Regions from separate parts of the Homo sapiens genome. Here regions 1 and 2 are each linked to region 3. Evidence: promoter capture Hi-C in 16 types of primary human blood cells and fetal thymus (Javierre and others, 2016). All regions are on one chromosome and are shown on one strand. Each heading gives the region's core, a stretch centred on a gene start or on the middle of the fragment in contact. The rest is flanking DNA. Distances are from core to core; before and after follow the strand shown. Region 1 overlaps ALG13 (ALG13 UDP-N-acetylglucosaminyltransferase subunit). Region 2 holds the start of PSMD10 (proteasome 26S subunit, non-ATPase 10). Region 3 holds the start of ACSL4 (acyl-CoA synthetase long chain family member 4).

Evidence for each region. The method cuts DNA at HindIII sites, captures the fragments that hold promoters and counts their contacts. A CHiCAGO score of 5 or more calls a contact.
Region 1: a contact is called between a fragment that was not itself captured here and the fragment with the promoter of ACSL4 in region 3, in 1 of 17 cell types (activated CD4 T cells). The highest score is 5.0, in activated CD4 T cells.
Region 2: a contact is called between the fragment with the promoter of PSMD10 here and the fragment with the promoter of ACSL4 in region 3, in 1 of 17 cell types (total B cells). The highest score is 7.4, in total B cells.

The regions. Positions count from the first base shown.
Region 1 is chrX:111,691,459-111,694,753 of GRCh38, forward strand. All of the region lies in intron 3 of ALG13 (ALG13 UDP-N-acetylglucosaminyltransferase subunit), which reads left to right. Among named protein-coding and RNA genes, the nearest start is that of ALG13, 12 kb to the left of the region's middle. The HindIII fragment of the contact is 1,009 bases long and covers 1,306-2,314 here.
Region 2 is chrX:108,089,843-108,093,089 of GRCh38, forward strand. It overlaps PSMD10 (proteasome 26S subunit, non-ATPase 10), which reads right to left and starts at 1,700. Exons shown (of 5, transcript NM_002814.4): 1 at 1,565-1,700. The coding sequence starts at 1,678. It overlaps ATG4A (autophagy related 4A cysteine peptidase), which reads left to right and starts at 1,936. Exons shown (of 13, transcript NM_052936.5): 1 at 1,936-1,994. The coding sequence starts at 1,985. RefSeq lists enhancers at 1,449-1,848, 1,899-2,138. The HindIII fragment of the contact is 5,520 bases long and covers 1-3,247 here.
Region 3 is chrX:109,731,582-109,734,652 of GRCh38, forward strand. ACSL4 (acyl-CoA synthetase long chain family member 4) reads right to left here and starts at 1,676. Exons shown (of 16, transcript NM_001318510.2): 1 at 1,558-1,676. It overlaps LOC105373311 (a long non-coding RNA gene), which reads left to right and starts at 930. Exons shown (of 1, transcript NR_158569.1): 1 at 930-3,071. RefSeq lists enhancers at 1,039-1,088, 1,149-1,288 and silencers at 1,411-1,531, 1,629-1,938. The HindIII fragment of the contact is 5,191 bases long and covers 34-3,071 here.

The sequences.
Region 1 (3,295 bases), core at 560-3,059, 2.0 Mb after region 3:
TGCTTAGTATGTATCAGGTACTATTCAGAGCACTTTACACATATATACTCATTTAATCTTTAAATATTCCTGTGCAATAATTGGTATTGTCCATTCTACAAATAACATAATGTGAAAAAAGTTGTATTTCATTTTAGGGTCCAAGAGATGTTGTGGAAATTGTAATTTGAACACTGAATTCCAGTATACTTCCATCCTTTATGGGGACAGTAGGAGAGAATATTTGAAATCAGAGGATTTTCCTAAGAAATTTAGATTGTATGTTAGCCACAGGCGTAACGGTATGCTAGCCATAGGTGTATAACCTTTTTGAATTTTTACATTGCTACTTAAAAAACCACAGTGATGGCTACTCATAGAATCCATGTGTAGAATCCATGTGGAGAAACTCTTTCAATTGGTTTACCTGATTGCAAGTTATTTACAAATCTTTTTCTTTTTTCTTAGTTGTATTTTAAAGTTTCATTTTGGTCCTTGCTTTATTTCTTTTCTTGGAATTTTCAGCATTCCCACAGCTTCTACTGTTGACTCCTTTATCTGTATCTCCCAACTCTGATTTGGGCTCCTAAATGATATTTCCAATTGCCTTTGGCCCTGTCTGTCTGTTAATTCTGTAAGCACCTCAAACTCAAGGTGTGCCCCAAACTGAAATCATATTTCTTTTCATTCTTCTGAGGTGCTTATCTTTATTAATGGTATCATCATTTAGTCATTCTTCTAGCCTTTAACTCTGTCTCCAACCCCTTATATCTAATTGGTTTCCAAGCACTCACAGCTTTATTTCCTAAGTACCTCAAGCTTATGTATTCATCATTCAGGCTTTTAATATAAATGCATAATGAGAATCTACCTTTTGTATCAGCAGGATCCAAGACATGATTCCTGCTCTGAAGGACCTATGTCTTACTCATTTTTGAGTCCTTTGCCTGAAACACAGTAGGCTTTCCATAAATGATGAATGCACTTCTGTAACCTAGTACTCTTTTTTGATTGTCTTGATTAGGATTAGGTATTGTTCTAGGAAACACTGTCATCTTGTACACATTTATTTCATACTGACTTTGATTTGACAGCGAAGTATCTAGTAAGTCTCTTGTTCAGAAGATGTGACCATCATATTGTATGGTAAGTTTGTAGGATCAAGCACATATAAGAATAGCATCCCAAATATAACAGTGCTGATTCTATGCAGTATCTTAATGGTATTTAAGGGTCTGTCAAATAATGGTACCTGTCAGGGATTTGTGGCAAAACATGATGTTAAAAATCAGGTATATGAAAAGCACTATAGTGTTTTCTAGTAAAAGCTTACATAGAGAAAGGTTTAGGATATTACCAAACAATTTTTTTTTTCCTTTGAGACAGGGTCTCTCTGTCACCGAGGCTGGAGTGCAGTGGCAAGATATTGGCTCCTCTGCCTCCCCTGGTCAAGTGACCCTCCCACCTCAGCCTCTGGAGTAGCTGGAACCACAGGCATGGGCCACTACACCTGGCTAATTTTTTGTAGAGACGGGGTTTTGCCATGTTGCGCAGGCTGGTCTTGAACTCCTGGGCTCAAGTGATCTGCCTGCCTCAGCCTCCCAAAGTGCTGGGATTACAGGCGTGAGCCACTGTGCCCAGTCATCAAATGATATTTAATTACTTATTAAGTGGCTAATGGCTAATTCCCTACGTGAATGCTCTATTTATTATACAGTTTTTAATTCTTTTTTTTTTTTTTTTTTTTTTGGTAGGCGGCTAAACAAAAGGTAGACAAATCTGGCTAGGTTCAAACAGGAATGTAGAATACATGATGCTATTTATTTTTTTTTTTTTTAACGGAGTCTCGCTCTGTTGCCCAGGCTGGAGTGCAGTGGCATTATCTCCGCTCACTGCAACCTCCGCTTCCCAGGTTCAAGTGATTCACCCTCCTGAGTAGCTGGGATTACAGGTATCCACCACTACATCTGGCTAATTTTTGTATTTTTAGTAGAGACGGGGTTTTGCCATGTTGGCCAGGCTGGTCTTAAACTCCTGGCCTCAAGCGATCCACCCACCTCGGCCTCCTAAAGTGCTGGGATTACAGGCATGAGGCACTGTGCCCGGCCAGAATACATGCTTCTTAATGTTGATACTGATTCTTGAAAAATATTTTGACAGGCTTTTAATACCATTATATACCATCTATGTTGGTATTTCTATATCTTCATTGTCTTATAAATTTTTTACCATATTCTGGCCAAAATTACTTATTTTGATTGACACTTGTATCATAGCTTTGAACATGATTTTATTTTGGTGGCTGCAGTCCTGTTCTCTGAGGCAGTGGTTCTTAAGCTTCTTTCAGCCATGGAACTCTTTAATTTAAAACTGTGGCTTTTCTTCTCTATATACATGATTTTGCAGTGACTTTCAGAAAGTTTGCAGGACCTCATGGCCCCGGGTTAAGAATCCCTAGGCTGAGGCGAACTTCAGTAACTTCATTTCTTGGTCATTGTTTATTACTATTTTGGTCTTAATTCCTAGACTCATTTGTAATTAAACCCTTTTGATTAATTACATTTAAATTTAGTAATTCCCAGTTTTTATTTTTATTTCTATTTTTATTTATTTATTTTTTTTTTGAGACAAAGTCTCGCTCTGTCGCCCAGGCTGGAGTGCAGTGGCGCGGTCTCTGCTCACTGCAAGCTCCGCCTCTCGGGTTCACGCCATTCTTCTGCCTCAGCCTCCGGAGTAGCTGGGACTACAGGCGCCCACCACCATGCCCAGCTAATTTTTTTTGTATTTTTGGTAGAGACAGGGTTTCACCATGTTAGCCAGGATGGTCTCGATCTCCTGACCTCGTGATCCACCCGCCTCAGCCTCCCAAAGTGCTGGGATTACAGGCATGAGCCACCACTCCCGGCCAGTAATTCCCAGTTTTTATAATGTAACACAAATTCAATACTTTTTTTGTTTAAAGCATACTAGCCAATACATTTTTGAAACTAACCTTAATATTCTTATGCTATTAACTCAGTATCTGTAACCCATAATGTCATATAGTGTCTTTTCTAATAGATAATAAGGACTAAATGGAATTTTTTATTTGTAGTAATTATTTTAGAATATCCTATAATAGACTGGTGAAGAAATCCAGTAAGGCAATACAATATGGTGTTTACTCATGGTTAAGTGTGCTACTAAAGTACTTGGTTGCAGGACCCTGATAGTCACTGTTGGAATGATGTCTATGAGACGCATATAGTACATCTTTTTGAATGATCATTTCTCCTTTTGTGCAGCATTACATACTGGTCAATTCTCCACTGCCAGT
Region 2 (3,247 bases), core at 450-2,949, 1.6 Mb before region 3:
ATAAATAAAAATAAATAAAAATTAAAAAAGCTATAGTAGTCATTATTTGTCAAAGGGAATCCCTATTTGCAGTGACTGCTATACTTCTTAGCCCCACAGAATAGAAAATGGTATTTTAAACTCTATTACAAAAAAATTTCAAACACAAAAATAGAGGGAATAGAATAGAAACCCACAGGCCTACTGCTTAGATTTAACAACAAACATCTTGCCCTATTTGCTTTAACTAGTTTTTTCCTTGCTGAGCTTTCCAAAAACAAATCCTAAATATCATGACTTTTCACCCTTCTCTTTCAGTATGTAAAAAATAAAGGTATTTCTTATATAACTATGAGACCATTATTACACTTACTAAAATTAACACTAACTCCTTTAGAATGTCTAATATCCGGTCTGTATTCAGATTGCCCCCAACTGTCTCCCAAATGTCTTTTTGCAGTTGGTTTGTTTAAATCAGGAACCAGACGAGATCCATAAATTGCATTTCTTCATGTTTTTTACGTCTCTTGATGCTGAATAGTTCCTTTCCCTTTTTAAGCCACTGACTTGACTGAAGAATGGTTAAATTTCCAATGGAGTATTAAATCTTAATATAAAGTATTACATTTAAATTTAAATCCTTAAATATCACCAGACCATAATGAAGTAAACCAGGTAAAGATAAGGCCATTTTCAGGTTGAGTAATAAAGGAAAGTTCCAGAAAAGAGAAAACAGTCTCTTGATTTCTAATTCTCTCCCAAAAGACACAAAATGGAGATCTGTAAGTATGGGACAGTCTCACTAGTGCTTACGACACTGTCTGCGAAACACAAGGCCATCTATAAATATTTGTGGGCTTACTAAAGGCACCATGAATCCTAGAAACTGAGGATGAAAGCACGAGAGTCCTGTGAGCAGGAGGGCAGAAAGAAACACTTCTAAACTTCTGTCTACCTCTGCTTAGAATGTCCACTCATTCCCCCATGGAAATCCCACTCATGCTTCAAAGTCTAACTAACCTTCCCTTCTTTGCAAAAACTTTTCCAATTAACGACAGTCATATTCAGCATCAGATCCTCCTATTAACGTGTTCTGAAAGCACCATGTAAACTTCTCTGCCGAGTATTTACCACAATTTGTAATCGGACATGTTTTTGTGCTTATTTTATTGTCTGCATCTTCCACTCCACCGTATCCCCAGCTCCTAGCAAACTGCCTGGCACGGAAGGGGCGTTCAATTTCACATGCGTTACTGAATACAGTTACTAGTAAAGGTAAATAAATCCATATAAAAAGCCTTCCTTTTCACTGATTGGGAGTTTCTGAGAAATGCGGTAGACGTTCTAGAACTATCCAAAAATCAGGGAGCGGAGCTCCGGGCCAACGGGAAAATATCTGAGGTCTGTGGGGCTAGCTCCCGCAGGCCTATCGCGAGTCCCGAGGTGACCCAGGGGGACTGCTTGGGGCGGCGGGGGCGGGGTTCTGCTTCTCTCAGAAACGGGGCCTCCGCTAGGGCCGGGCCCCGAAAGCCACGTAGGGCTTCGCCGACGTCGCCGACTGCGGAGAGACCTAGCGTTGCTTTACCTGGTCAGTTCTAGTAGCCAGGGATTTATCGGCCAGAATACTCTCCTTCAACTCTTCCAGCTTCCCGCTGTAGGCCAGGTTGCAGACCATTAGGTTAGACACACACCCCTCCATTTCGCTGTCCCAGCAACTACTTGTCGCGCGAGCAACGCCCGCCTCACGTCGCCGGCTCCGGCTACGCCAGTCAAAACAGCCGTTAGAGCTTCACCAATCACCGGCCTTCCTCGTTCCCTTTTCTTTTCCCGTCGCGCGGCGCCTCTGGGAGTTGCAGTTTGAGAGCAGTTCCGGGCAGGGAGGCGCCTTTGCTGCCCTCACAGACTTGGCCCCTAGCAGTGCAGAACTACAAGTCCCAGGGATCCTAGCGACCGTCCGTCCGTAGTCAAGTTGCCGGTGGAATTGGCCCAGGATGACAGCTGGAGAATGGAGTCAGGTACGGGGAGCGGCTTTGAGTGGAACCGTGTGAAAGAGCCGGGGTGGGTAGTCGCTGGCGGGTCGTTGAGTCGGCCATATGAAACAGGTTCGGGGGCAGGGCAAGAGTTATGAGAGCCTAAAGGTCCTGTCCCCCGGGGTTCCTGACCTGCAGTGGCAGGCGGAAGGGACAAGGGTTGGAGCTGAGTACTACCTACTGAGCTCGAACCGGTGACTGTGGCTACCCTCCCCCTCCCTGCCACCGCCTAGGGAGTGGAAAGAAGTGGGGGTTAATTACTCTGACATCTCGGCGGTGTGGCATCAGGACAGGGTTCTACCACAGCAGTGATAGCATATGGCACCGTACTGAGGTGATGTGCCAGGGTGATGCCAAAGGCAGGGTGTGATGCCGTGGGAGCCACCTGATATCTAAGAGACCTCGGTGAGTCCATAGCCTGGTGACATCACAGCTTGATGAGGGTCATCTTAAGGATACCGGGCTGTGGTGTTGGCATTTTAATATCACGATATTAACTATGTTGTCAAGGCTTTGCTACAACTATTAAGCTAATAGTGTTTCTTTTTATAGAAATCCCAAATAGTGCCATAGCAGAAGCAATGCAAGACTGATCCTTTATAGGGCATATCCAGAGGACATTATGCCACAACTAGGTAACGATAAGAATACATTCAAGAAAGAGACTCATGATGTTTATGTTTATCCTGTTATAGTGTAGAACAGGAGTTGGGAAACTTTCTGTAAAGAGCCAGATAGTAAATATTTTAGGCTTTGTAGGCCAAAAGGCAAAATCAAGAATATTTTGTTGGTACTTTTATGACAAAAGAGAAAACAAATTTCAACAAATTTTTATTGATGAAATTCAAAATATAATAGTAATTGAGTACTTTTTTTGTAATACAGGAAGACTACCAATGAGAAGAATAGAATTCTTTTTAGGGGATAATATTTTGCTTAATTGGGGCTCAGAATTAGTGTTCCCTATTGTCAAAATTGATTTTAAGTGTTCATCTGTTAATGCTGATCTGTTAGGAAATTTTTACCTATTTAATCTTTGAAAATGTCATTTTACATAGATAGGTACTGCCAAATACTGATATCAATTCATAAACATATACTTTTTTATTTTTATTTTTATTTAATTTTTCAAAAATTTCAGAATAGTTGTAGATTTATAGAAAAGTTGCAAGGTTAGTAGAGTTCCTGTATAACACTCACTCAAAATGAGGCACATTTTACATATCATAAAATTCACT
Region 3 (3,071 bases), core at 426-2,925:
AAAAAAAAAAACCCACAAAATTGAATTTACTCAAGCTTTCAATTGCTGTATTACACCTTCCATGGATTTTTAGTTGTCAAATTATTTCTTATAGCAGGACAATAAGGTACTTTATTCTAAGGTACAAGTATACTAACAGTTTAATGTTTCATCCCCCACCTAAATGGCAGAGAGTGTTAATTCTAACAGGAGTCTTACATGTCTTACACTTTAGCAGTTTCAATCAAAAGATGAGCTATTTTACAATTTAAGGAAGAGGCCTTACACTGTTAAAATCTTGACCGATATGCTCAATGGCAGTACCATCATTGAATCTCCACCTGCTGCCTTACGTATCAAGAACATTTAAAAGTCTTTCTTGTTAGAGACAAAATAAAAGAAAAACTAAGGTGACAAGCGACTATGAGAAATAAGGCTTTAATCAGGTTAAATTTGCATTATGCAGCCTGCATGAATTTAGAGGTCCTAGAATCAAAACACTAGAAGGAACCTTTGATATGCTCTAGTTCAACAGACTGATTTTTGCAGAAGAGGAAACTGAAGCGCTGATGAGACCATTAACTGATAAAGCAAACCGCTTACTTTTTCAAAGGGATTCATTTCAATGCCATTTTACCCTTATTTTGCATCTCACTGTTGTTTCTCAGAGCGACGATTGACCTTTTTTTAGGTGAAAAGAGCGAATAGAGCGTATTAATTTCAAGAGGGTGAAAAATGCCTTTGAAGGAGGAGATGCTGGAGTGAAGAGGAGAAATGACGTCTTATTTAAAATATGTAACCCCTTGATGGGGTTAGACAATGAATCATATTCTCCTAGATTTTTCTATGTCTATAGACATCAGCCACAGTTCTTTCAGGCACTCAAACGAGAGGAAGAGGAAGTGAATAAAGCTCATACTAAATATATAGCACCCACTGAAGGCAGGGATGTAGACAGAAAGAACGGGGGTGGGGGAAGGAAGGAAAGCACGCTTCGCCAGGATCCAGCTGTTTTCTAACAAACCTAAGCCTACGGAAGCTAGGAAGATATCGGAAGCAAGGAAGATATCGGAAGCGACGGCATCCCTCAAATTCGAGAGGGCGGATGCCTCTAGGGCTAGAGAGGCTCCCTAGCCCTCAGTTACAGAGCGACTGGGAGGGGACAAAATGGAGTTGAGGTTTAGGGGCACCCTAAAGGTCGTTTGGAGGTCTAGCAAGCACTTCATGGTCTCCTCCGGAAAGGGCCGTGGCAAAGCCTAGTACCCCGATCAGGAAGATGACTTCTGGCCCTCGGGATGCGGTGAGCGGCAGGAAGAGGCAGGCTGGGGTTCCGAGGACCCCAGAGTCCATCACAGGAGCAGATACAGTGACCTCGGGAATCTTCCCGGCCCCAGCGGAGGCGAGCGGATAGATAGCCCTGGCTCAAGGAAAAAAGCGAGCCGACTCCAGGAGCTGGAATGCCCACCCAACCTCCTCCCGGCTCAGGTGAGGTACGCCAGTCCCCCTCTGGAAATGGGGCCCTGGTACCGACAGGGCAGGGGTGCCGGGGCCGCAACCTCCCCATCCAGGGATACTCACCGGAGGGGCGGCCCACCGCGTCTTCGCAGCCGGCCGGCGCCTGGCACTCGGAAAGCTCGCAAAAAGGAACCGCGTGCCCGCTAGCGCTGGGACGAGGAGGAGCGCGCGGCGGAGGCCAGAGAAAAAGCCGCAGCGGCGCGCGCGCACCCGGACAGCCGGCGGAGGCGGGACTCAGCGCGAGCCCGGAAAAGACGCGCCCGGAGGGGCGGGCGGAGCGGGGGCGCGCGGTGGTGTGGCAGAGCCAGCCGAATCGCTGGCTGCAGACGGCTCGGCCCACCCACGCGCCCGCCCCCGCTCGCCCGGGACGTCAGTCGAAAAGGCGGAGCCGAACGGGCTTCCCGGGGCGCGGGAGGGGCGCTGCGAGGAAGGCGAGGCGGCTAACGGCTCGCCTCAAGTTGTTGCTCCCGCTGGCGATCCGCTTCTGTCAGTCTCGCTGCTGGTGTCGTTGAGTGTGTTTCGGGATGTCCTTGCGCCTAACAGCAGTGAGGCGCAGAATTGGCCCACGCCCTCACCTGCGGCTTGCTTCGCAGGACTCCACCCCAGGATAAAAGTTCCCCTCGGGTCATCTTCCAGCTGCCCTCAAAAGACACTCATTTTTGGGTTTCACTGCTCCTCTTTAAGAGAGCTATCTTGAACACTTTGACTAAAAGCATCTTGCTCCTGTAAGCCTGAACTAATGCCTCTCATCCGTTTATCTTGCCTCTTACTGCGTTAAGATCCCCGCTCACTCCCACTGATGAAATATCACAAGGACGCAGGATTTTCACGTTGTCTTTCATTTCCACGATGGTATCATGGCAAAAAAACCCCCAACTGATAAGGAAAAGTCACCGCAGCTTTGTGACATCTTACTAGCCCTGATCATTGCTTATAAGCCGGTCATACGAATGCTGTTCCAACAGATGCAAGAAATTGCTATTAAAATTAAAATGCCAGCGAACTATCTGAGGGCTTCAAAAGGGACAGACCATAATTGCAAATGAGGCCTGATAAACTGCCAAGAATATATCACCCAAAAAAATAAATCTCAAGAATTCTTCCAGTTCCCTGATGCGTAATGGTGAACTAGCTTCCTGTTCCTGATGGTAATTGACATTTCACTTCACTTGCTGATTTCCATTTTCCCATAGAATTACCATTTGTGCTTGTGTGTGTGTATATATATATGTATATATAAAATGCCTTACCACCTGAGATTACAAGCTAGAGTAGTTCTTCAGTGTGCATCACAATTATCTGGGGTGCTTGTTGAAATGTAGGTACCTGGAGCTACAACCCCCAGGTATTTTGATTCTGATCTGGGTAGGGATAAGAAATTTGAATTTTTAATAAGCAGCCCAGGTGACACTAAAAGTGGTTAGCTGAGAGCACAGAGCTATAGTTTTTGTGTTACTACTCTAAAGCCATATTACCAATTCAATTTCCAAGAAACCCACCCACTTACATATAATATACCTATAAATATTGCTAAGACAGTCATGTAGCTTCCTTTTTCAAGATTGACCTACAAAGTT